Linked DNA regions of Homo sapiens: all the other regions are linked to region 6. The links are contacts of gene promoters, found by promoter capture Hi-C in blood cells and fetal thymus (Javierre and others, 2016). All regions are on one chromosome and are shown on one strand. The core of a region is centred on a gene start or on the middle of the fragment in contact, and the rest is flanking DNA. Distances in the headings are between cores, read along the strand shown.

Region 1 (4,282 bases), core at 1,025-3,524, 360 kb after region 6:
CATCAGTTCAGGCTGCTATAAGAGAATATACAATTGCCTGGGTGGCTTAAACAATAACAATTTATTTCTCACAGTTCTGGAGGCTGGAAAGTTCAAGATCAAGGTGCTGGCAGATTTGGTGTCTGCTGAGGACCCGCCTCCTGCTTCACACACAGCAATCTTACTGTGTCCTCACATGATGGAAAAACAAGAGAGCTCTTTTCACATCTTTTATAACGGCACTAATCTTGCTCATGAAGACTCCACACTCATGACCTGATCATCTCTCAAAGGCCCCACCTCCTAAGACCATCACTTTGGGTGTTTGAATTTTCATTAATGAATTTCCGTGAACACAAACATTCGGTCCATAGGAGATGTCTTTGTACATGACATGTGATTGTAAGGCCACTAGACAACTGATTATAATGTGAGAGAATGTCTACAGAAGAGAAATATATTTATTAATTTTCTGAACATAGATGGTATATCTACTTTCTCTGCTACCTATTTTACTTTGTTTACTATTTATGTCATAATGTCACTGGGAAAATGGTTTTTTATAATTTCTATGAACAAGTCATTTTGTTGGACAACATTAGCCTTCATAAGTTTGCAAATGGTTTCTTTTAGAGGTTAGGACAAGACTAGACAACATCTTAAAGCTTTTTGAGGCCATTTAATGATGGCTCAATAATTGGATTTGCCTAATTCAAAAAGTTATTCAAGAAAAACTTTTTCCTACATATATTTAACTCTATTATTCTCTCTAACTATTTCTATAATTATCTGAAATTTGATAGTTTTATTTGGTTTGTTTCTTTATTATACTTTAAGTTCTAGGGTACATGTGCACAACATACATGTTTGTTACATATGTATACATGTGCCATGTTGGTGTGCTGTACCCATTAACTCATCATTTACATTAGGTATATCTCCTAATGCTATCCCTCCCCCCTCCCCCCACCCCACGACAGGCCTCAATGTGTGATGATTTCATTCATACATGGAATTTTTCAAAGTGGATATCATAGAGGTAGAAAAAGAATTTTTCAAAGTGGATATCATAGAAGTGGGTATCATAGAATAGAAAAATGGTTACCAGAGGCTGTGTTGTGGGGGTAGTGGAAGAGTTTGGTTAATGGGTACAAAGTTGCAATTAGACAGAAGGAATGAGTTCTGTTGTTCTATTGCAAAATAGAGTGACTGTAGTTAACAATAATGTATTGTATACTTCAAAATTCCTGAAAGAGAGGATTTTGAATGCTCTTACCCCAAAGAAATAATAAATATTTGAGGTGATAGATATGCTAATTATCCTGATTTGATCATTATACAATGTTATCATTTATTGAAACATCACACTGTACCCCATAAATATCTACAATTATTGTGTGCCAATAAAAACAAAATAAAACTTTTAAAAAAGAAAAGTGGGAATGAGGGCAGGAACTAGAACTTATTTATGTTTGTAGGCTTAGTGATAAAATAGTGCTTGGAAGATAGTACTAATCAATATTTTTTCAATTCTTTCTCTTTAAGAGTAAAAAAGGAGATGAGGAGGAAGAGAAGAATCAGGAGAATAGTTAACATGTATCTACTATTTTTATGTGCCAACCACTGTGCTACATGATTTTCCTTTATAATGTGGATACTATTAATTTCCCCTTTTAACAAAGGAGATGATAAGATTTGGGGAGATTACCTACTTGTTAGCCAGTTCCCAGGCAGCAGGCTTGAGATTGACCCTATCAGGTTTCTTACTGCCAGGAATCCTCCTCTTAACCACCACTTATTAAATGCTTCTAGAGACAAGATAGGATGTAAAGCTAGTGCTTTACATATGTTTCATGCAAAGCTTTAGGTAAGACTAAGAGTGGAGAACACAGGGAACAAGTAGACCTTATTAATTGTAGCAAAGACCTCTCTAGAAGAGTAAAAGGTAAAGTTGAGGAGGTGACTTGAGATTACAAATAACGAAATAACTTTATTGGCAGTGGAGAAGCATTATGAAATATTCATTCAAAAAGTCATATCTTGTATCTGTAATGTTTAAGGTGTTATGATAAGCGTTATGAAAAGAGGGCAGATTAAAATATACAGAAACCTTAACAACTAAGAGCTTATAAGGAAGATAAAACTTAATCACAAATATTTATAATAGAAGATAAAATATCATGGTAAAAATAAAGTTTATGGAACTTCAGAAAAAAAGTTTTAAAGATGACAGTAAGACACTTTACGAAGGGTGACATTTTCTAGACATTAAAAAATAAAGTAGATCCCAGATTAGAAGGAAGCTCATTCCAGGAGAAAAAAATAGCCAAGCAAAAAGTGCTGAGATGAAAAAGTTGGAAAAAAATAAGAGTTTTGAGTAGAGTTTCCAGTCTACATGGGGAGCAGTGAAAGGTATACACTAAAAGATAAGTTCAGACCCTCATCTCCTTTGCATAAGCACTGTATACATCAGATGTTGGGATACACTAAATGTTCATTAGCTGAAAAATTACATTATTATAACTGTAGTTGAAAAGACTGATCTGAGAGTGCTGTGTGGTGTGAAATCGAAACCTAATGACTTGGTAAAAGGTGTTCATGTATAAATTACAATTGATGGAGCTTAACAACTAACTGGATTTGTCAAGAAAGAGGGGAATGAAAAAATCAAAAGTTACTCCAACTTTCCAGCAGATTAGCCTAATGAAAGAATGTCTTAGGAAGCTTAAACCCAAGAAAGGGTCCAAACGAAATGATCATAAAGAGGATAAGAATGGAGACAGCAAAATGAATTAATGGAAAAATGCTAATGAATGACTTGGTAAGGGTTGGGTGGCAGTAGGAGGAGAAGTAAGCACCTAAAATATATATCAAAATATGAATTATCAAGAATTAATGTTATATTGATTACAAGGCACAGAAGATTAAAATAAATCAAAGTCAGCTCTGAAGTTTTAAGCTTCAGGAATTTGTAGTCCACTGAGAGTAGCTACGAATTTAAGAGGAAAATTTCATCTTAAAATGGGAGTTCTCTTTAAAACAGGTTGAAATTTGGGCATGTTAAGTTGCATAGTGGAGCTATAATTAAGAATCTCAATCAAGCATTTCTGAAGTCACTTTTCCACTCACGAACTTGCTTTTTTAAGATTGTTCTATATAAGACACATAGAACCTTCTATTTCAGACTTTCAGTTTCTGGAACCCTTTCTAACATTTGATAGTTCTAAATATTGTGAACAACCACTGGCTTATGTTTTTAGGCTTGCTGCATAAAAACTATAGCAGCACTGCTAGAGACACCAAATAATAGCATTAGTCTAATTTTTCTATGCTTTAACTCTAAAGTATATAGGAACCAGAAAGTATATTATTATAACTATAACTATAATAATATAATGTATAAATTATATGCAGCTGAAATTGATCCTCAAGTCATTCCACAATGCTCCATTTGGCTATTGGTATGAAGACCCAGCAATAACAAATCTAAAAATATATATGTATATATAAGTGTCAATGGCAGAATGAAAGCTGCTGATGAGCAGAGAAAATGAAATTAACTAGAAATTAGGTAGGAGGAGTGTTAAAATGAAGGAGATATTTAAGTTCAAGGAGAGATGTACAGCATCGCAAATAGCAAAGAAGCACCAGTAGGCTCTTCTGGGAAAGTTATCAGTTCTAGGATCAATTTCAGGTCTTGCCTAGTAGGATATTCAATTATGAAGGGGAAAGATGATAAAAAAATTATTTTGAGTATTTTGTCAGATATACTTGGTACTGAAATTTGCTAATAGAGAATAGTAAAATGACCTTTCAGAGATATGTGGGGTTTTAAAAGATAACTACCAGAGTTAATTGGATATTCTTATCCAAGACAGTAAGAAATAAACTAGATGTTCTCTTGAGTCCATTAGCAATTATAGGATCTTATTGTGAATAAATATATGAAGAAACGATTTATAATTCATATTACTGTCTCTATGTTATCCAGAGAGTATTTGCCATCTTCCTTTTATTTTTCTGAGGTAATCCCATTAAAAAACTGGATGAGTTATACAGATGACCTGCCCTTTTAAAATGGTAGCAGCTTGTTCTCTAAAATATGCCATTCCTCATAACTCCTTTTGAAAGTACAAATTAATTTACCTCCTTCCTTTGGCTACTAAAATGCTCCTGATTACATTGTCATGACCAATGCATGCACTTTATTTTTCAAAGGATACCTTTGATTTATTTTTCTTTCCCACTTGAACTTACTAGGCATCTTGTTTATTTAATCATCTCTCACTAATGAAAGGGAGGT
Region 2 (4,121 bases), core at 514-3,013, 380 kb after region 6:
CTCTGCTTCCGAGTTCAACTTTTCAGATTCCACGTATAAGTGAGATTATATAGTATTTGTCTTTCTGTGTCTAGCTTATTTTTCTTTGCATAATTTCCTCCAGATTCATCCATGACATCTGAAATTCCAGAATTTTCTTCTTTTTATGGCTGAACAATGTTCCATTGTAATTGGTATCTTATCTTTATAGACAGAGAGATGTATAGATATCACATTTTCTTTATCAATTTGTCTTAGTCCATTTAGTGTTGCTGTAAAGGAATACATGAAGCTGAATAGTTTATAAAGAAAAGCAGTTTATTTGGTTCATGATTCTTCTTGCTGGAAGGTTCAAGATAGGAAATGTGGTGAAGGCCTTGGGCTGCTTCTACTCATGATGGAAGGCAAAATGGAGCCAGCGTGTGCAGAGATCACCTGGTGTGAGAGGAAGCAAGAGAGAGATGGGTAGATGCCAGGCTTTTAAAAAAATAACCAGCTGTCATGGGAACTAATAGAACAAGAACTCCTTCATCCTCAAAAGAAGTCGTTAATATATTCATGAGGAATCTGCCCCCATGATCCAAATACCTCCTATTAGGTCTCGCCCCCAACACAATGGCACTGGGGATCACATTTCACCATGAGATTTGGTGGAGAAAAACAAACAAGCCATATATAAACAATAACACTATTCATTTGTTATGGAAACTGGCTTCTTTCATATCCTGGCCATTGTGAATAATGCTATAATAAACATGGGAATGCAGCTCTCCCATTTCTTTTGGGTGTATACCTAGAAGTGATATTCCTGGATAATATGGTAGTTCCAGTTTTAAATTTTTGAGGCATCCAAATTCTGTGTTCCGTAATATTTGTACCAATTTAATTTCCCACTATCAGTGTCCTAAGGTTCGCTTTCCTCTATCCCATCACTAACACTTATCTTTTTTTATAATAGCCATCTTAACAGGCATGAATTAATATCTCATTGTGGTTTTAATTTCTATTTCTATTATGATCAGTGATAATGAATATATTTTCCTACAGCTGTTGTCCAATTTATTGTCTCTTGAAAAATGTCTCTTCAGATCCTTTGCCCATTTTTAAAATTGGGTGATTCAGGGTGTTTTTTTTTTTTTTTTTTTTTGGCGCTGAGTTGTAGGGATATTTTTATATATATTTCAGATATTAGCCTGTTATCAGATACAAGGTTTGCAAATATCTTCCGTATCATAGGTTAGGATTTTGTTGACTGTTTCCTGTGGTGTGCATAAGCTTTTTAGCTTGATTTAATCCTACTTGTCTATTTTTGCCTTTATTACTTATGCTTTGTTTCATAGCCAAAAAATCATTGCCAAGGTCAATGTCAAGGAGCTTTTTCCTGTATTTTCTTTTAAGAGTTTTATAGTTTCAGGTCTTGTATTCTGTACTTTCTGCATTAAATATTCTACTTATTAACTTTGAATTTTAAAGGTTCAAGATAAATATTTCAACCTCATTGAGATAATAACATGTAAGATTTAGAAAACTGTATTTAAATTGGTTGCCCTGAGCACATAAGTAATGTCTTAACTTGGCAGTTATATCTTAGCAACCAAATTTTAGTTTGACACATTATTCTTGAAAATGTACTGGAAAAGGAACTGAAGCTATCTTAGCCCTTAATGAGTTAAGGTATAAAAATGAAGACAAATATTAATAAATCTCACTGTTAATTAGTTTATGATAATTTTTATAAGTGCTATATAGGACCCATACATAATTCTAAGAGGAAGTATAACAAAAATATGTAAAGCAGTACCATGGCTGACACATAGTATCCTCTCAACAAATGTTTACTAGTTTTTCATTATCTGGGTCTTGAGTTAATTCTCCCAGACAATAGAGTTGTAAATATTCAGTCATTTTTCCTTGCTTCTATCTTATCTTAATAACCTGGCAAAATCTATTTGCTGTCATAACAGTCAATGTTATTAGAAGACCTAGACTATTGAGTTAGAAAGGCTTTCTTGGAGAACTGATTTTTTAGTGAAATTTGAAGAATTAAAAAAAAGATTTATAATTAGTTGCTCTTATTTAGGGAAGGAGGTTTTATTTAAAGGGGAAAAGCAAAGAATCTGTGACAGAAAGGGGCATATCTACTCAGAGTGAGAAGAGAAATAGGTGGCAACTTTTAGACTCTGCTAATGATTTTTAGAATAGAATAAGAAAAATGAATTAGAAAAGAAAACAGAATAAGAAAATGAGAATAAGACAAATGAGAAGCTATTGAAAGGTTTTAAGCCAAGCTTGTCCAACCTGTAGCCCATAGGCCAATGTGGCACAGGATGGCTTTGAATGTGGCCCAACACAAATTTGTAAATTCTCTTAAAACTTTATGAGATTTTTTTGTGGTTTTTAAAAAGCTCATTAGCTATTATCAGTGTTAGTATATTTCATGTGCGGCCCAAGACAATTCTTCTTCCAACGCAGCCCAGGGAAGCCAAAAGATGGGACACCCCTGTGTCCAAGAATTAAAGATAAGAATTAAAGAGAATTAAAATAATTAAAGAATTAAAAAGATAAGATTTTACACTTTAAAAAATCTTCTGGTTCAAGGCCAGAGAAAAATTTGGAGGGAGACAGAAGTAGAGCAAGGAACTAGTAACAAGGTAAGAGTTTGAGGTATTTTGTCACAAGGTAGTTAAAACATTTGGAGTGAGATTTCATAATCAGCCCTGTTATCTGTTAGTTGTGTGATTGTTTATCTTTCCTCACCCTGTTTTCCAATATATATCCTCCAATATACATCCTCGGGACAGCCATTATAACCCCCTGATGATGTTGGTATAAGTATTCAGAAAAATAATCTATATAAAGCACTTACTTCCACAGTGCCTGGCAAGTGTTGGAGATCATTAATGTCATGTCAGTGGAGATGGAGAAAGTGGGCTGCATTTAGACAAAATCAAGAGGATTTTGCAATTGATTGGCTTTACAATATGGAAGGAGAAGTCAAGGGTGGCTCCCAGGTTTTAGGTTTAGTAAGCTGGGAGAGAGAGGGGACAAAGAAGGCCTAAAATTGGAGGAAAGATGGTAAAGGCACTTTCGTTTATTTTGATCTTCAGATGCCTTCATGTCCTCCATGTGCGGATGTCTACTAGGCAGTATATGAACTCATCTATAAGGGCCGTGGTTGGAGTTAAAAACTCTAGATTGCCTGCTTATAGAGTATGGAGTGAGAAGAGAGGAGTGAATCCTCTGCCTTCTCCCGCCCATCATTACTTGCCACTTATACATGATTCATTGTGCTGTAAGCACAGCTTTATTACAAATAATCAGGATTATTAGATTAGTACAAAAGAATTTGATTTCATCTCTATTCTAAAGAGTTCTAATTAGATAAAATTGATGGTTTTCCTTGTCACTATATACACCTAAAATTTTCTCAAGAAGTAAAAACAAACAAAACGTATAATTAAGTAATGTCATAAAAGAAATTTTAAAAATTAATCAAGGATTACCTCCAAAAATGCCAGAAGAAAGTTTCTTCTCCTTTTGAATACAAATAATTCATTTTTTAAGCAAATATATGTGTATATATATATTTTTTTTCCACCAGAGTCTGTTGGGAATGTTTTCTTATGTGCCTACTTTGAAAAACTAACTTGTATCTTGCAAAGCCAAAAATGAGCATTCTCAATGGCCCAGCAGTTCCACTCCTAGGTATATCCATAGAGAAACTCTTATAGGTGTGGACCTGGAAGCATATACAAAATTCTTTAACACAGTTTATAAAGGCCCCAAACTGAGCAAAACTTGAATATCTATACACAAGAGATAGAATTATTATTATTATTATTATTACTACTATTATTATAGTGTTACATCAGCAAAAGTAAATCTCAAAGACAATGTAGGGTGATTAAAACAAGCTGCAGAGGGATATATTTGGTATAATACCAGTATTATAATATAATAATATAATATAATATATAAATTAATAATATATAAATTCCCCATATATCCAAAACTTTTAAAAATATATTGTTTAGGCCGGGTGCAGTGGCTAACACCTGTAATACCAACACTTTGGGAGTCCAAGGCAGGCAGATCACAATGTCAGGAGATCGAGACTATCCTGGCTAACATGGTGAAACCAT
Region 3 (4,406 bases), core at 788-3,287, 400 kb after region 6:
TGAGTGCAATGGTGAAAACTGAAGGTGACATGGAACAGACAAGAAGGCAATGGAACAGACAATCCCTAGTTCAACCAGGGCTTCAAACTAAGTGAGAGGAAAGACAGAAGAAAAGGACACATAAGGTATCACCTTTTAAGAGATAGTAGTGAGTTTCAAGGATCTCATTTATTTTCAAGCTGAAAATACAGTATCAGATGTCAAAGTGAGTAAAGGATCCCCAGTTTGGGGTGTAGAGATACATACCCATCTAAAAGGGGAGAAATTGTGTTTTTTTTTAATTTAAAGATTTAAAAATTAATTTAAAAATCAGGACCTATTCGTTTTGGAATTGTGCTTTCAGAAACATTTAACTTTTCTCATTAAAGTGGTGTAGTTTTAGATAAGAGCATTAAGAAATGTTTTAAGGTCTGTCTTCTCACCTTTCTACCCCAAAATCCTTTTTAGAGATCAAAGAAAGAATAATGCATTTCCTGCCTTTGATGAAAAACATGCTATTGCTTTGTCATCACATAGACAAAGAACGTTAGATCAAAATGATTGGGAGCAAATCCCTCCGGACAGCTGCCATGTCAAAACTGATATACTTTGGCTTTGATGACAGAGACAGAGAGTTAGAGAGAGAGAGAGAAGAAGGGAGAGAGAAGTAAAAAATAATCATCATCACTAAAAGTTCTACATATTTCTAGCTATCATTTAGATACATAATGACTAATTATTATGAAGCAAAAATTTGCAAAATTAACTTTTATATATTATGCATATGGGATAAAAGTACTTCAAATCCTCAAAAGAAATCATATACTTGGTTTTGTAACTCCAAATGGAAAAAGGATATTATGATAGGTCATTCTATATAAAAATTTATATCATCTTTATGCTTCTTAGATATTCAATCAATAAATCAGTTATTTTTGATGGCATATTGTCCAATAGTGCAAAGTAAGGACACAATGTAATAGTAAAATTGTGATACAGCAGAGTAGCAAATGAAGTCCTGGTTCCAAACACATTAGTTTTGTTTGTTTGTTTGTTTGTTTGTTTTGTTTTGTTTTGGCTTCTTTAACAAAGCTGGGAGGAAAAAACAAGATAAAAAATAAAAGTTGTTGAGGTACTTAGGTTAGCCTGTAAGTAATCTTTAATATTTTATGTAATTATTTTCAAAGTAAAATTTTTTATAGGTCTAAGCTTCAGAGACAAGAAAGAAAGTGTTGGAATATGATGTTGCATGTAGAGGAATAAAATTTGTCTATTAAAAAGATTTTTTTAGGATTTAAAGGAAATCCACTTGATAATTTTCTACATGTAGGAAAATCACTTTTGAAATTGCTGTTTTTTCATCTTTTTCCACTTTTTCCTAAAAGGAGGTCAAATTAAAACAAATAACAGAGCATGCACTTATTTTGTATTTTGAGAAAATAAAATCATAATTTGAGAAGAAAAACCCTCCAGTGTGAAGATGTGAAGATTCAAGGTGCAAGGAATTAGCAGGGCAAGTACAATGAAGTGGAATAATTAGAGAAAGCTGGTAATTAAACGCTTCTGATGACTGAAGAGAAGAGAAGACAAAAGCCGGCTGGTAATGTATGCTTGGCCTCTCTGCAGCTACAGGATACAGCACAGAATAGAAGGGCTTAAAATCAGAGCTGAAAGTCAAAGGGTTACTGTTTCTAAGAAGCATTCATGTAAATAGGGCTTGGAACCTAGTTATAGGTGCAAAAGTATAATACTTTGTTAACATCTAGTTTAAGTTACATATTGTGTAAAAGCTTTTGAGACTTATTACAAAGTTTATGTAGGCAAATAAATTTCTTAAAATATATTCTCCAGATCATATTTGTATTAATATTTTAATGTACATATCACTAATATTTACAACATTGCTTTAGAGGATATTAAGCATAAGTAGAGTGCTACTCTCTCAATTTATTCATACTTATGTGAAGCTTAACTTGTCATCAGGGTGCCTTGACTCAGAGTATTCCATTCATTGAAGGTAGTTTGCTCAATTTGCAGGACTAGAGCTTAGAGGAAAAAGAGCCAGGCTTGCAGATCCAAACTTGTTAACTGTTGGCATGCATTCAGAGGAATTTGTGACATATTTGGAGAAGTAAACGAAAGAAGCTTGAAATACTTATCACATTAGCAGGAGAACTTATTGTCAGTTCCATTTATTTCTTCAAGAAATACTTACCGAGAGCATTTAATGTACCGGAAAGTGTTCAACTCTGTAGAAGCGGCACTGAATGAAAGTTGACTAAAACCTGCGCCCTCAGGGGTCTTGCTTTCCACGTGCTGAAGAGTAGAATTTAAACTTAATTTTGAACATCAGAGAAGAGGGCAATCCATCAGAACTAGAAGAGGTAGATAAGGTTTTAGAAGATAAAGGAGAAGGCAATAAGCAAGGAACTCCAGAAACAAGAACGATAACTGAGATGATTAAGAAATGGTGCAAGTTGGAAATGAGGGAGAAAGAGCCTCAGGTAGAAAAGGTAGCAGATGAGGAAGTGCCTGGGAAGTCGAGCCAAATGATGGCAACGCTGATGCAAAATAAACCAGAGAGCAATTTTGATATTAATTTCACACAATTAGAAAATACTAGAATGATTATTTTAAAAACGGCTTAGAATGAATGACATCGAATATTACAGTGAAACTAAATGTACATATATTTAAATAGAAAATAAACATATTCCAAACATTAAATAAAATGCACATTTGTAAGAAATTTAACATTAAGTTTATACTATTATTTTAATACAAAGTATCAAAGAGTCTCAATTTGTCTCAGTTAAAAATTAGAAGTAAAAAGTATACATCTGAATAATTTAAATAAACAGGCTGGTCTCAAAGTCCCAACCTCAGGTGATCCGCCCACCTCGGCCTCCCAAAGTGCTGAGATTACAGGCGTGGGCCACCGTGCCTGGCCCAAAAAAATCATATTTTCAAATAACGATTTTGGTAGGCCTTTAAATATATAAAGCAAAGCTACCTCTCCAATTTTGAAAATTTGAAGAATTTTTAGAGTTTATTTTACTTTGATTCCTGAGAAATCTTTTGAGTAAGCAATTTTTTTTGTATTACTGCTTTTTGTATTGTCAAAGCATATACTCCCTATGCATTTTTCATGCTTAAAATTAATGGTTAAAATATTGGATAGCTGAATAAATTGATCTTCAATGTATAAATTGAATATCTTAGGAGATAATTTACTCACATGTAAAACACATTGATTACAGTATTTGGTAAATTTCACATGTAAGAACTAGAGATGAAAGTTCAGGGCTTGTCTCTAAATTGTGAGGCTTGGACTTTCGTATGTGCTTCCTGTATTTTTTCAGCCTTTGCTTGTAAAACAAAGAACACCTGGAAAAGCTGTCAATTAACTAGCTGTATTAATTGATGCAGGAAAACTCACTGTTCAGTCCCTGAATCTACTCTGAGGATTTATATTATCTGAATAGTTTATATGCTTCTATTACACTAGATGTTGGCTCTGGTAGTGGTCTTCAAACTTTGTTTTTGTTTGGAAGTCGTCTAATACAATTTTGAAAATACATGTCTTCCTTTGCACACTTTAAAGTTGACCTCTAAAATTTATTACTAGATTTTAAAAATACAGAGCATATGATTTCAAGTGTATTATAAATATTGAGATTTTAATATAAAGCTGTAAAATCTTAATATTTATAATATACTTGAAATCAGACTCTATTTTAAGAATACAACATTTAACAGGCTTTTAAAAATAAATGCATAGAATGAATCTAAAAATCACAATAATTTGGTATTCACCAACATCCACATTAAAAATACATGAAATCTCTTCCTTAGCAGCTGGAAAATTTACTTGGCCCTTTGTCCACTCGAAGTCATAATTTGCATTCTACTTCCCTAGACTTTTGTATTAATATACTGTTTATTTTTATCATTGAAAGTTGTATTGACCATCTATAGAGTTCTCTGCAACAAAAATAACGTATATATTTTGAAATTTTAAAATAATTTACTTCTTATGATAAGACTCTATATAAACTTTTTCACGACTGAATTGCAATAATAGTTATTAGTAGTGCACAATATTTTGAATTCTGTAAAAATCAAAAGCAATATTATTGGAAAGAGTTCTCTAATAAAATTGGTTGTAAAAATGTTGTATATTTCTTTGACGGAAGCTTTACAGACATTATTATTTAATTTTCTCTTTATTTGATGATCTGGAGGTTTTTATAACTTTAGGGGATGCAACATAGTGAGATGGGTAGGAAACAGATACCTCCTTTCTCTTATAAACTGAAACAAAGGGCCGTTATCAGCAGTGAGATGGGAAAGGAGACCCATGGCAGAGAAGATCTCAAGCAGATTGGGTTTAGTAAAATCCACCAAAAGAAGTTGGATTATGTGAA
Region 4 (4,428 bases), core at 398-2,897, 480 kb after region 6:
AGAATTTGTTGAGTGCTTATTGTTTTCTGTACATACAACTCAATTGGTCTTTATAATAACTCTGTGATGTTGGTGATTTTTAAATTATTCTGATTTTACAGATGAGGAAATAGAAGTACAGAATCCTTAAGTGACTTTCCCAAGGGCACACAGGACATGGACGGGAGTAAAGGAGAGACTAAACCAGAGTCTGGTTTGGGAATAGATGCTTTCTCTAGTCCAAAAGAATATTACAATATACTCCTTAGAAATATTTTGCCTAGAGAACTATATTTCTAAAAAGAATGTATAATAAATAATAATAATACAATAAAACTTACCTTTCAAAAGTTATATATGTATTAAATAAAGAAAATTAAAATATGAAATTTGGTTAGTGAGATATCTTAATAACTAAGCTATACAATTTGATTTCAATTCCTATCACACAGTAACAGATTCTAATAATGGATTTTTAAAATGATTTATTTACTCTTTTGAATGAAGCTCCTTCATTTCCAAAAACAAAACAAAAAAAAAATTGAAATAAAAATAAAAGATCCAGCACATTAATAGTAGAGAGAAAAGTAAAGAATTTGGAATAGTGTAACTCAAGAAAAGGTAAACCACTGTGTATTAGGATTATCTAGAGGGACAGAAGTAAGAAACTTAATAGTTTACTAAGTATTAACTCACATGATCACAAGGTCCCACAATAGGCTGTGTGCAAGCTGAGGAGCAAGGAGAGCCAGTCTGGGTCCCAAAACTGAAGAACTTGCAGTCTGCTGTTCGAGAGCAGGAAGCATCCAGCATGAGAGAAAGATGTAGGCTGGGAGGCTAGGCCCATCTCGTCACTTCATGTTTTTATGCCCGCTTTATATTCACTGGTAGCTGATTAGATGGTAACCATCCAGATTAAGGGTGGGTCTGGCTTTCCCAGTCAACTGACTCAAATGTTAATCTTCTTTGGCAACACCCTCACAGACACACCCAGGATCAATACTTTGCATTCTTCAGTTCAATCAAGTTGACACTCAGTATTAACCATCATGAGTCCACCTTTCATCAACTTGAATCCATATACATTTCCTGAGATCATACATAATCTTCAAATAAAGACAATAATAAGGTTTATAATTACACCTAACATAATACAACTATCCTTCCTACAACCAGAAATGCACCAATCCCCAACCCAAATACTATTACATAAAGTTAACGATACTTAAATGCTGATGTGAAGTCAATAAATCTTATGTCACATAAGGAATGGAGGAAAAGGCATTTGCCAAGTCAGTGACTGCATACCAGGTACCAGGAGATGTGTTAATTTGCTCAAGCAATGAAACCACATCTGGTACAGCAGCTACAATTGGAGTCACCACTTGGTTAAACTTACGATAATCCACTGTCATTTTCCAAGATCCATCTGTCTTCTGCACAGGCCAAATGGGAGAGTTGAACACAGGTGTGGTGTGGAATCACCACCCCTGCGTCTTTCAAGTCCTTGATGGTGGTACTTATCTCCGCAATACCTACAGGGTTGTGATATTGTTTTTGACTTACATTTTTCTAGGTAGAGGCACCTCTAATGGCTTCCATTTGGCCTTTCCCACCATAATAATCCTCATCCTACCAGTCAGGATGCCAATGTGGGGGTTCTGCCAGCTGCTAAGTATATCTATGCCAATTATGCATTCTGGCACTGGAGAAATGACCACAGGATGAGTCTGGGGACCCAATGGACCCACTGTAAGTTGGACTTGAGCTAAAACTCCATTAATTATCTGACCTCCATAAGCCCCTACTTTAACTGGAGGACCATAATGACGTTTTAGGTCCCCTGGAATCCACATTAACTCAGAGCCAGTGTCAAGTAGTCCCCGAAGCATCTGATTATTTCCCTTTCCCCAATGCACAGTTACCTTGGTAAAAGGCCAGAGGTCTCCTTGGGGAAGGATGGGAGAAAGGTTAACAGCATAAATTGTCAGTAGTGTAGTAGGGTGCTTCCTCAAGGGGACCCAGCCTCCCATTCATTCAAGGGGTGCTGGGTCTATAAACTGGCTTAAATCTGGAAATTGACTGAGGGGCTGTGATTCTCTGCTTTTATAATTCAAATGAGTCTTTTGTCTATTTGATCTAGAAGTTTTCTGCTTATATAAATTAAGTAGGAATGCAGTAGGCTTCCTATCAATTTCACATCTAGGAGCACCGTGACTAATTAGCCAATGCCGGAGCTCCACACCAGTCAGACTATTCTGATTGCTGCTTTGCTTCTGCTGTCCAGTATGGTAGCTATGCTCACCTTGCCTGTGATGGTTGAGTGCCACCACTTGGCCCCTGCCACCTTGGGATCCAATTATTTCCATTGTATTTAAATTTTGTAGTTGAGTGACTGCAATTCCCACTGTTAGATCTGACATACAGAGAAGACCAATTACAGGGCTCTTCAAAGATGCAGGTGCTGCCCTCACAAATCTATTTCACAAGACATTGGAAAAAGGTATATCTTCTGTATCTTCCCAGATGGGGTGAATAGATCTAAAGTGACTAATCCACTCCACCATCCCAATCTCCCTAAGCATTTTGATCCCTTCCTCTACATTAAACCAAGGGAGATCAGGCATTTCTATCCCACTCAGTAGGTCATCTTTTAATCCATATTTCAGCTAACCAAGCACATAAACTATTAAAACCTTTTTTAACTCCCTGAGGTGCAACATTAAATGCAGTATCCCTACTTAGTGGGTAAAAATCAATAAATTCAGCCTGATCCAACTCTATGTTCCTTCCACCATCATCCCACACCCTTAATATCTATTCCCATGCCTTTTCTCCAGATTTCTGTTTATATAACTTAGAAAGCTCAAGCAATTCCTTTCCTCCTCTTAGGTCACACTCTTAACCTCACCTTTAGGGGCCCGCTGGGACTTTAGTCCAGTTATAGGTCTAGAAGCAAACAGGGTTGTTGTGGGTGGCTTCTGAGGAGAATCAACATTATCTTGCCAGGCACCTGCCTCAGGGGAGGCCATCACTGTTGCCTCAGGCAGCGCAGGATTTATCATCTCAGACAAAGGTGGAAAAGCTGATGGCAGCATGGATTGCGAGGGGATGTAGCCATTACTGGGGATGGGAAGCTGTTTCTTCTGGGAAAAAGGTTCATCGGAGTTTACAAACTCAGTGTCCCCAGCTTCATCAAGGTCCTTCCACACATCCCCATTCCCAGTTGCAGGGTCTCATTATTTTCCAATCAATGCCCTCACTTTAACAGTAGACAGCTGGCAAGGCTGTGCATGCACCTTTCATTGCAGGTCAGCCACTGGCATGATAAGAGCTTGTGTCTGTTTTTTCACAATATTGACTCTTTCTCTACAGGAGATAAGACTCTCACTCAGGGCAATCTTAGCAGATTTAAGGCTCAGTATCTGCTTCTGAAGCCGGGAGATAGAAGCACCGAGTTTATCATTTTCTTTCATCACTTTGTCCACTGAACGTAGGAGCAACCAACCAGCTTCTTTATGTTCCTTGGTTCTCCACATATGGTCAAAGGTATTATATATAGAGTCACTAAACTTCTTGCCTCTCATGAGCAGTGAATTAGGAATGTCAAATGCATTTATTTTGCATAACTCTCTAAACGGTTAATGCCAAGGACTATCAGAATTCTCCATACTATTAGAAGTAGAGTCCTTAGCATTTTTGGGTCTAATCATATTAAGCAGCGAACTCCAGAAACCCCAAAACCAAGGAAAGAACTCCAACCTTAATATTCTGTTCCTCTACAACCACTCCTGGTACCAAAACCTGTATTAGGGTTCTCTCAAGGTGCAGAACTAATAGGATATATATGTATATATTATATACATATATAAAATATATAATATATGATATATATAATATATCATATATATAAAATTAAGTGTTAACTTACATTGTCACAAGGTCCCACAATAGATGTCTGCAAGCTGAGGAGCAAAGAGAGCCTGTCTGAGTTCCCAAACTGAAGAACTTGGAGTCCGATGTTTAAGGGAAGGAAGCATCCAGCATGGGAGAAAGATGTAAGCTGGGCAGCTAGGCCAGTTCCATCTCTTCATATTTTTCTTCCTGCTTTATATTCTTGCCATACTGGCAGCTGATTAGATGGTGCCCACCCAGATTAAGGGTGGGTCTGGTTTTCCCAGCCCACTGGCTCAAATGTTAATCTCCTTTGGAAACACCTTCACAGACATACTCAGGATCAATACTTTGCACTCTTCAATCCAATCAAGCTGACACTCAGTATTAACCATCACACACTGTGATGAACAAAGTACTGCTTACAATTTCCTAGAAAGCAAAGTTGAAGGAGGGAAACCCTATGAGCGTGTAGACAAGGGAGGCCCATTACTTATGATTGCCCTGGGCATCATTAAGGAGCTCATTCATCTTTCTGCACTACTGTTATCAGCA
Region 5 (4,323 bases), core at 208-2,707, 430 kb after region 6:
TGGTACAGTGGCCAAATGTTTATTGAGAGCCTGTTAGATATATAGATTAAGTCAGAATGACTGAGATCTCTTTCTCACAACAGTAACAGTCTTCTGAAAGACACTGACAACTAAGTTAGAGATGGAGCAGGATGAGTGTACAAAGGAGATATTCATGGAACTCTTGATAGGCATTTGCACGTAAAGAAGAGTGCCTTGTCCTAGCTATCTCAAGCAACTGCCACTTACTGTCAATCACATCTCCTGGAATTGGAATTGGACTTGGCTGCCCCATCTATCTCCATCTCTCCACAGTGAGCTCTGTTTAGTTTTTTTTATTATTATTATTTTTGAGACAGAGTCTCACTTTGTCACCCAGGCTGGAGTGCAGTGACAAAATCATGGTTCACTGCAGCCTTCACCTCCCCAGGCTCAGGTGATCCTCCCACCTCAGCCTCCTGAGTAGCTAAAACTACAGGCACACGACACCACAGCGAGCTAATTTTTGCAGTTTTCATAGAGATGGGGTTTTGCCATGTTGGCCCATCTGGTCTTGAAGTCCTAGACTCAAGTGATCCTCTAGCCTCGGCCTCCCAAATTACTGGGAGTACAGGCATAAGCCACTGCACCTGGACTGTTTTTGGTTCTTTCTGTACATCAAGTCCACTCTCTTCTCTATCTGCAAATAAGCTTCTTCTCTTATTTCTGCTTTTTCAAAACTTTGTCTTATCATGGTCCATCAAGGCCCTTCTGGGTCTTTTTTTATAACATAAAGTACTTCTTGAGTGAGCTTTGTCAATCACCTCACCTCTCTGTATTTCTTTTATTAAAAATTGTAGAGAAGAGTCTGATAGTCCCATTTAACATTTCACATTCATTGGAACATCAAGGATCCTTGTAAAACTGATGTTTTGGCTGCCTTTGAGCCTTGTGCATACCCCTGGTCTAATTGTATGGCTGGGTTGAAAAAATAAAAGCATATTATAGCCACATGGTCCAGAATTTGACCATGACTGACAAGAATCTGTGCACAGGAAGTGTAGATGAAGGCATATGTGTAGCAGACTTTCTCAGGGTCAGGTTATTCAATACACAGCATGTCAGATTGAAGCAGAGCAGTAAGACAAATGTCCCAGAGTAGATGAGAATTCAGCTGATGCTTGATCAAAAAGAAGGAAGTAGAGAGGTGAAAGGGAAGGATGAACCATTAGGGATAACTTCAACTGCAAAAGCATTAAGGATTGAGAAGCAAGGAACCTTCAGGAAACAGCAAAGTTGGAATGGCTGATTGTTCTTCATTTCAGTCAGCTAAGGACATTTAAACCATTGATTATCACAGTGTTTCTCCAACAGGAGTCTGTGTCTCCCCAGAGAGTGATTCAGTTGTTACAACAGAGCCACAGAGATTAGCAAGTTATAACCTCCTTTTCTATTTCCAAGTGAAGAGAAAATAGTAGAGAAAATATTTTGCTTTCCTATTGTATGTTTGTTGATTTCCTCTGGCCGACAGACATGTTTTCATTTTGATGGCTGCAATGGGAATTAAAGTAGCAAGCCAGTCTGACGTTGGGTGTCTCATGTAGACTACTCTATTTTATTGAAAGCAGCTATGCCAACCAGGTCATTCATATAAGAAACATGAACAAAACCATGAGAAACACATAACTGCACTGTGTCAAGTGGAAGGAGAAGATTTGTAAACAAGAAAGTGGGAGAATGTTTCAGCAGCATATTGCCTTGGGACCACTAGTTCTGACATCTTGGCTGACAGCAAGCCTACAAATGTAAGACAAACCACAGCAGCAAGTAGCTCTAAGAGAAGTTGCTCAAGCCCTAAAATGGTCTCCAATTAAAACAAAGGCACTCCAAGAAACATAAGTTTGAGAAACACAGGCACAGAAGTTACAGACCTTATAAACAGTTTCTGGAAAATACTCTCTTAGCCTAGCATAAGGGGATTAGGAAGGAAACACAGGGCCCAGACCTATGTGAATTTTCAGGAAGTGTATAACACCAGAGCAGTAGGTCTGTGACATTAAGAGTTTTCCCTGTGAGAACTGCTCACAGAGCAAGTCTCAGAATAAATACCGAATTAAATGACAATAATCATTGTTGACAGGGAAAGTGTGCCAGCCTTACATCTGGCATTCAGTAACACAACGTAAATTCTCTATCTGTGAAGAGGATTAATATGAAGATCCAGTTCATAGAGATGGTTTTAGATGATATTTTGGCTTTCAGAAAAGAGTTTGCCTCAAAAGCTTACGCAACCAACTTCTGTTAGAAAACCCTTTCCTAAAATGGAAAACTGAAGACATTTCAATTATAAACACAGTTTAACATATAATATTCTAATAACAGCTATTGAAATATGGGCTTTCATTGAACAAAGCTTAGTCTCATCAGTCACATATTATAATTTTGCATTAAGATACATGAGCTTAATTTTGGAAAGAAAAGAGGAGTTTAGTGAAGAAGCTTCTTGAATCCAACTCCCTCTTTGACATTCTCATTTGAATGCTTAATAGCCTTCACAAACTTAATATTTCTGAAGTTTAAAATTTCCTACAATTCGATTTCATCCATAATATTGCAAATTCATTTTTCCATTTTCTCAAGCCATAAACTTTTGGAGTCATCCTTGACTCCTCTCTTTCTGTCACAACTCATATATAATTCATCCACTCTTCTCAGCTCTCCATGATTTGCTTGTTTGGTTTTGGAAGTGTACACAAAAGCTAGCATAAACAACCCCATTCTAGGCCACCGTTATCTGTACCTAAACTGAAATCTTTTAACCTGTTTTTCTGCTTCTACTCATGCTCCCTATGATCTTTTTGGCACCCTAAAGGCAGAGGTATTCTACAATATTTTTCAAGACATTCTGTCTCATTCAAAGTAAAATCCCAGTCTGTACCATGACCTCTAGGGTCCTTCTGCTGGTACTTCTCTGGTTTTATTGTCCTGTACTCTCCCCTTGATTGCTGTACCCCATTTATCCCTACCCTTCAGTTGTTTTTTTTTTCTGTTCCTTGCACACGCTAAGCATGTGCCTCCCTTAAGTCTTTTCTGTTCTCACAGTTTGAAATACTCCTTTCCAGATATACACATGCCTTACTCCTTCACCTCCTTAGATGTCTGCACAAATGCTATCTCATTTAAGGCCTTCACTGAACACCCTTAATGAAACTGCAATACCTTGCTTTCCCTTGGTATTTTTACTTCTCTTCCTCTGTTTTCTTTTTTGTGTGGCAGTTATTATCAACCCCATGTTTTAGATATGTATTTTTCTTTGCTTGATTATTTTCCATATACTCGCTAGAACATAAGCATTAGCATAGCAGGAACATAATTTTGTTTATTGCTGTATCTCATTCTTTAGTCGCTACAATAGTACTTGGCACAGAGTGGATATTCATGTTTGTTGACTAAATGAACAAGCGAGTTATGGTTAAATAAATGAATATCTAAAAGGGAAATTCATACGTATGCTAAAATTTTACTAGAGTATTTTCTCCTCTAGTTCAGTGCAACAGAGACATCTAAAGGTATAAAGAATATTAAAAAGGCAAGTCTAACATGGGAATATATTAATACTTAGTGTAATATTTTCATCAGGTAATATCTACAAGTCTGGGAGTACAGTTCCAATAAGTCTAAGAAGTACATAGCCTAAAATGCAGCTCTACAAATAACTATGTACCTAATTGTTCAAGATAAATGCAAATTTGATTATGGAAGTTTGAAAACAATTTTTTTTGTTTGAATAATTTTATAACTGGTGTTTACCAAGTGGAAATGAAGTGCACGCAAAGTGCAGTGTGAAGCTACACATACAAAAGGCAAAACAGGTCCTTGCCTTCAAAAATTTTTCATTTGTTGAGGTGACAAAACGTAAAGCACCTAAAGCTATTGAGAAGCAACATACCAGTGACAGTTAATATCGAGCGTCAACTTGATTGAATTGGAAGATGCAAAGTATTGTTCTTGGGTGTGTCTGTGAGGGTGTTGTCAAAGGAGATAAACATTTGAGTCAGTGTACTGGGAGAGGCAGACCCACTCTCAGTCTGGGTAGGCACCGTCTAACCAGCTGCCAGCGCAGGTAGAATAAAGCAGGCAGAAGATGCAAAGAGCAGACTGGCTGAGTCTTCCGGCTTTCCTCTTTCTCCCATGCTGAAGGCTTCCTGCCCTTGAACATGGAACTCCTAGTTCTTCAGCTTTTGGACTCTTGAACTTACACCAGTGATTTGCCAGGGGCTCTCGGGCCTTTGGCCACAGACTGAACTTTTGGCTTCCCTACTTTTGAAGTTTTGGGACTCGGACTAGCTTCCTTAGGCCTCAGCT
Region 6 (4,728 bases), core at 820-3,319:
TTCCAATCTCCTGAGAGCAAATGGATTACATTTGCAGACACACACACACACACACACACACACACACACACACACACCCCACCTCTATGTGGGTGGTCAGGAAACTCAACTATATGGACATATAACAATTTCATTTAGAAAAGTGCTGATTAGAAAACTAAACTTACAAAATTAGAAAAACTGGAGAATAATGAATTTTATGAAAAATAGATTACAATGGATTCATAAGGCATGCCCTTTATTTAAGTCCCATTATGTTATTAAAATTGGGAATAACCCTTCACCCTCACAAATTTACAAAATATTTTTGGAACACATTATGCAAATATGGAGTCACACTGGTGTTGTGGAGCTGCTAACTCGAATAAAATACCATACTTGATAAAAAACCTTCTGTCCACTAAACTGTAAATGCCTTAAAGTCAAAGATCAGGCCTTATTTGCCTTTAGTGTATATTTAGTACTCTGTAGATAGAAGTGGTAAAGGGATAAGAATGAATGAATGAGACAGGCGGGTGAAATTTTCAAGAATGAGACAGATGGGTGAAGTTTTCAAAGGTTTCTAAAAGGGAAAAACAAGAAGACTAGGATATTCCAAGCAGAAAGGTCTGGTTGGTTGGCCCCAGTTGGTGTTCGCATATAAGAAGAGGGCTTGGCATTTTCCTCACCACTGAAGAAGGATCAGCCCCTGGTTTGGTCCAGTAAGAATATGTTCTTGCCCAAATGCCACTCCTTAGTTTCAGGGACATTGCTATTTTGGTTTTCTGTTCCAGCCCAAGTGTTCTTGATGGTCGAATTGTTTGCATTGACTTTTTTTCCACAAGAAGTTGGGTGATATTGCTGATTTGCCTGCCATGGCACTTCCTTGTTTTCATTTTGATTATTACTCAAAAATAGCTTCATTTTAAAATTCAACTTTTCTGACTCTCTGCTTGTGCCTTTAACACATTGACAATGATTTTCTGCTTCTCCACAAAGAAAGCACGTTGGATCCTGTCACAGACATATTTAGCAGACATGGAACCACCATAAGCCCTGCTTGGCATGTGTGTTTCATTTCAGACTACCTCATGAGAACTTTAGGTCTTAAAGCATCGGCCTCTCTCTCCAAGTCAGCCTGAACACAAGCCACAAGAGATTTCAGTTCTTTCTCGACCTTTTTGGTGTAAATGTAAACAATTCTATCACCAGGGGTTCAGGGCAGCCTAGTTTTGTTAGAGGCTGTATTGTAGGAAAGTCCAAGGTTGCAGGATCATTCTGAGTCCCTTAGACACCATTCTCAGAAGAGCTTGCTATTAGCTTAATGCTGCCCAACTACTACGTATGCTTCACGAGGGCAGGGACTTTTGTCTGTTTTCACTGCTACGGCTCCAACCTCTAAACAGTGCCCGACATAGTAGGCATTCAGTAAATATAGTACTTGTTAAATGGATGTTATTTTGGCTGCCTTTACTTTTGCTTTATTTGTCCTGCTTTACGGAGCTGGAAATTGGAGGAAAGCCTTTGAATTCATTTCCCTTCTTCCTTCTGTTCTGAAACTCTGGCCAAGGGTCCTAGCAAAGACCTTAGGGAGTGGGGAGCCCTCCTGGAAACTAATGACAAGTCAGGCGACAGGGGGCGGGAGAAGGAGAGCTGCAGGAAGTTCTTTCCCACTTACTTCTGCAGCACCCTTCACCACCCATCGTGCTCTGTATTTGGGGTTAGAGGTGTTCCGTGGAAGGGAAAGCAGGGGCCGCCTTGGCCGCGTTCCTCTCCTGGGCCACCGGGGTCTTGCCCACAGCGAGTCCCGCAGCACCCCCTGTCTGCGCAGCACCTGTTGACAGCCAGTGGGCGGCCAAGCCCGCTCGCGCGGACGCGTCCCAGGGCTGCCCCTCCCAGAGGCGCTGACCCCCGCCCGCCCCATCGGCCGCCTGCGGGAGAGCCGCTGAGCCGCCCCCGCTCGCCAGGCGCGCGCTCCGCCCGGGCTCGGCCCACGGCCCCCACCTCCTGTCTGCCGCCCGGCGGGGGGAAGGTAGAGAAGGGGAGGGGACAAGCCGGATCCTCCCGGCCGCCCCGGCCTTCCCTCTTCACCCCGTGCGGAGACGCCGCGCGTAGCCCCGAGGTTAGCGCGGAGCCCGAGGCGTGGGGGGAGGGGACGGGGAACAACCGGAGCCCCGCGGTGACCCCGAGCGGCCGAATTGCCCCAGGCTTTGAGGAGCGGGGGACGAGCCCGAACAAGGTGAACTTTGGTCGCGGAAAACTCAAGCCAGGTGCCGGAATCCGTGCTGCGGCGCTCCGAACCCGGGGCCAACTGCGCTCCGGGCTGAGGAGCGGGAGCCCCGCGGCCTCTCTCCGCCTGCGCCCGGGCCGCCGTCGGCCCGGAGCCCCCCGGCCCCGCTCCGGCGCCCCGGCCCGTGGGACCCGCCGCGGCGCCCTCGCCTTGTTTCTTCCCCCTCCCCCTTCGGGGGTGGGGGGTGGGGCGGGGGAGAGGGGCGCCCGGAGAGCCGCATCTATTGGCAGCTTTGTTATTGATCAGAAACTGCTCGCCGCCGACTTGGCTTCCAGTCTGGCTGCGGGCAACCCTTGAGTTTTCGCCTCTGTCCTGTCCCCCGAACTGACAGGTGCTCCCAGCAACTTGCTGGGGACTTCTCGCCGCTCCCCCGCGTCCCCACCCCCTCATTCCTCCCTCGCCTTCACCCCCACCCCCACCACTTCGCCACAGCTCAGGATTTGTTTAAACCTTGGGAAACTGGTTCAGGTCCAGGTTTTGCTTTGATCCTTTTCAAAAACTGGAGACACAGAAGAGGGCTCTAGGAAAAAGTTTTGGATGGGATTATGTGGAAACTACCCTGCGATTCTCTGCTGCCAGAGCAGGCTCGGCGCTTCCACCCCAGTGCAGCCTTCCCCTGGCGGTGGTGAAAGAGACTCGGGAGTCGCTGCTTCCAAAGTGCCCGCCGTGAGTGAGCTCTCACCCCAGTCAGCCAAATGAGCCTCTTCGGGCTTCTCCTGCTGACATCTGCCCTGGCCGGCCAGAGACAGGGGACTCAGGCGGAATCCAACCTGAGTAGTAAATTCCAGTTTTCCAGCAACAAGGAACAGAACGGTGAGTCTTTCCCCCATTCTCCCCCTGCTTGTTTCTCGCTGTGTGTGTTAACGTTGGCATTGTGCGTTGGTATGTGATATATACCAGACTGTGAAGGTATCTTTGGTCTCTCATTACATGCAAATGTGCGCTGCGTTCATTGGCATGGACTGTTAAAGGTTAAGTGTAGTTTGCAACTTCGGGAGCTGCCACAAAGCTCCAAGAGGGCAACGTGAGTGCCACTGCTGAGTGAGGACATTCTGGGAGCGATTGTGAACGTCATTTCAAATGCACATTGCAGGTTCGCTCATTGCTAAAGTTAGAAGTTCAAGAACTGCCTCTAAAAACGAATCCAAAATGAATGAGCCTTGGCATGTTTGACTTTACTCAGATTTGGGGAGGGCGAGGGGGGTCGGTCAGGAAATATATCAGCCGCATTAATTGAAGCACTCTAGGTCGAAGTCATCAATTAATCAATGAGTAGATAGGAAATATAGAGGTCAAGAGGCTGTGTGGTCGTTTTTAGAGGAATTAAAAAGTGTATTTCTCTTGCTCCCTAGTTTTTGTTTTTTAAACTTGCCTTTGTACTCTGAAGTCCTTACCTTTCTGGTGGTGTGTTTTTGTATGTGTTGGTGAATGACTGCTATTTTGTGTGTGCTGGAAACGACTTAATCCTGCATAGGAAATGAGAATTACTTTCAGCTTTCAAGTGTACCTGAAATGTTTAGAAAACTCTCAGATGCAAGTTCCCTTGGGCTGGGATTGCACAGAGCTGGAGAAAGGCTCCTTTCATAAAGCCAGGGCAGCTTCAGGGTGTGTAATTTGCTTAGCCTCTGAACCCATATGATTTACATCATTCAATTTCTAAACTCTTTTTCTCTTCATCTACCATTATGAAGTCATTTTTGAGAATACTTTGTAAATAGAAATTTTATACTGCACATGAAACCACAATGTTCATGTTAGGCTGTCTAAAATTGGAATATTTAACGCCCTGTTTACAAATGGTGGCTCTTACTGTAATTTGAAAAGGAATATACATGTTTTTACTGCTTTGTATATCATCTATTCAGAATGCAAGGATTCTGTCACTTGATTAACCATGCAAAATGAACACAAGTGGCATACCTACAAAATTAAGATAGGATGTGCTATAGTTTTAAGTCAGAGTGATTTTTTTTCCTTTTCATATTGGGGTGTTTCAAGACTTCAACTTTGAATTTAAACTCTATGAAGTGTTCATGTTTAAGAAAGCACAGAAAGTTTTAGGGTATAAAAGTAGATAAAATAAGGATTCTGCCGACTTTTGCAAACGTTATTTGTATTTGCTGTTGCGCAGCAAGACATAGTATCACATTTATCAGCTAATATTAGTGTGGTGCTTCTTACAACTTGCTAATGTGATGCCACATGGCACCTGCAGGCTCCTTGAGCTGCTGATCAAAGGGCAGCCTAGGGATGTATCTCTAATCACAGTAGCTGCAGAGGTCTGGGGGAAAGTGATCAAAGGAGCCACAGCACCAGCTGTACCCGTGCAGGAAACACATCAGACCAACCTTTGTTCTTTCTCATGTAAAATAAATGTCCAGTTCAAAATATTGCTTCTTACTAGCCAAGCTCCTCCATAATGACAACAATGCACAATATTCCTGGCTTCCTGGCTTCTG

Evidence for each region. Contacts are between HindIII fragments. The CHiCAGO score rates a contact against its expected background, and 5 or more counts as called.
Region 1: a fragment that was not itself captured here is called in contact with the fragment with the promoter of PDGFC in region 6 in 1 of 17 cell types (M2 macrophages); the score reaches 5.6 in M2 macrophages.
Region 2: a contact is called between a fragment that was not itself captured here and the fragment with the promoter of PDGFC in region 6, in 3 of 17 cell types (M0 macrophages, M2 macrophages and megakaryocytes). The highest score is 7.5, in M0 macrophages.
Region 3: a contact is called between a fragment that was not itself captured here and the fragment with the promoter of PDGFC in region 6, in 1 of 17 cell types (megakaryocytes). The highest score is 6.4, in megakaryocytes.
Region 4: a fragment that was not itself captured here is called in contact with the fragment with the promoter of PDGFC in region 6 in 3 of 17 cell types (M1 macrophages, M0 macrophages and M2 macrophages); the score reaches 6.2 in M1 macrophages.
Region 5: a fragment that was not itself captured here is called in contact with the fragment with the promoter of PDGFC in region 6 in 2 of 17 cell types (M1 macrophages and megakaryocytes); the score reaches 5.3 in M1 macrophages.

The regions. Positions count from the first base shown.
Region 1 is chr4:156,610,299-156,614,580 of GRCh38, reverse strand. No RefSeq gene overlaps it. Among named protein-coding and RNA genes, the nearest start is that of LINC02272, 30 kb to the left of the region's middle. The HindIII fragment of the contact is 863 bases long and covers 1,843-2,705 here.
Region 2 is chr4:156,585,525-156,589,645 of GRCh38, reverse strand. No RefSeq gene overlaps it. Among named protein-coding and RNA genes, the nearest start is that of LINC02272, 55 kb to the left of the region's middle. The HindIII fragment of the contact is 1,013 bases long and covers 1,257-2,269 here.
Region 3 is chr4:156,565,886-156,570,291 of GRCh38, reverse strand. No RefSeq gene overlaps it. Among named protein-coding and RNA genes, the nearest start is that of LINC02272, 74 kb to the left of the region's middle. The HindIII fragment of the contact is 178 bases long and covers 1,949-2,126 here.
Region 4 is chr4:156,488,498-156,492,925 of GRCh38, reverse strand. No RefSeq gene overlaps it. Among named protein-coding and RNA genes, the nearest start is that of LINC02272, 150 kb to the left of the region's middle. The HindIII fragment of the contact is 7,171 bases long and covers 1-4,428 here.
Region 5 is chr4:156,542,619-156,546,941 of GRCh38, reverse strand. No RefSeq gene overlaps it. Among named protein-coding and RNA genes, the nearest start is that of LINC02272, 98 kb to the left of the region's middle. The HindIII fragment of the contact is 1,571 bases long and covers 672-2,242 here.
Region 6 is chr4:156,969,140-156,973,867 of GRCh38, reverse strand. PDGFC (platelet derived growth factor C) reads left to right here and starts at 2,069. Exons shown (of 6, transcript NM_016205.3): 1 at 2,069-3,082. The coding sequence starts at 2,965. RefSeq lists an enhancer at 1,782-2,282. The HindIII fragment of the contact is 8,294 bases long and covers 1-4,728 here.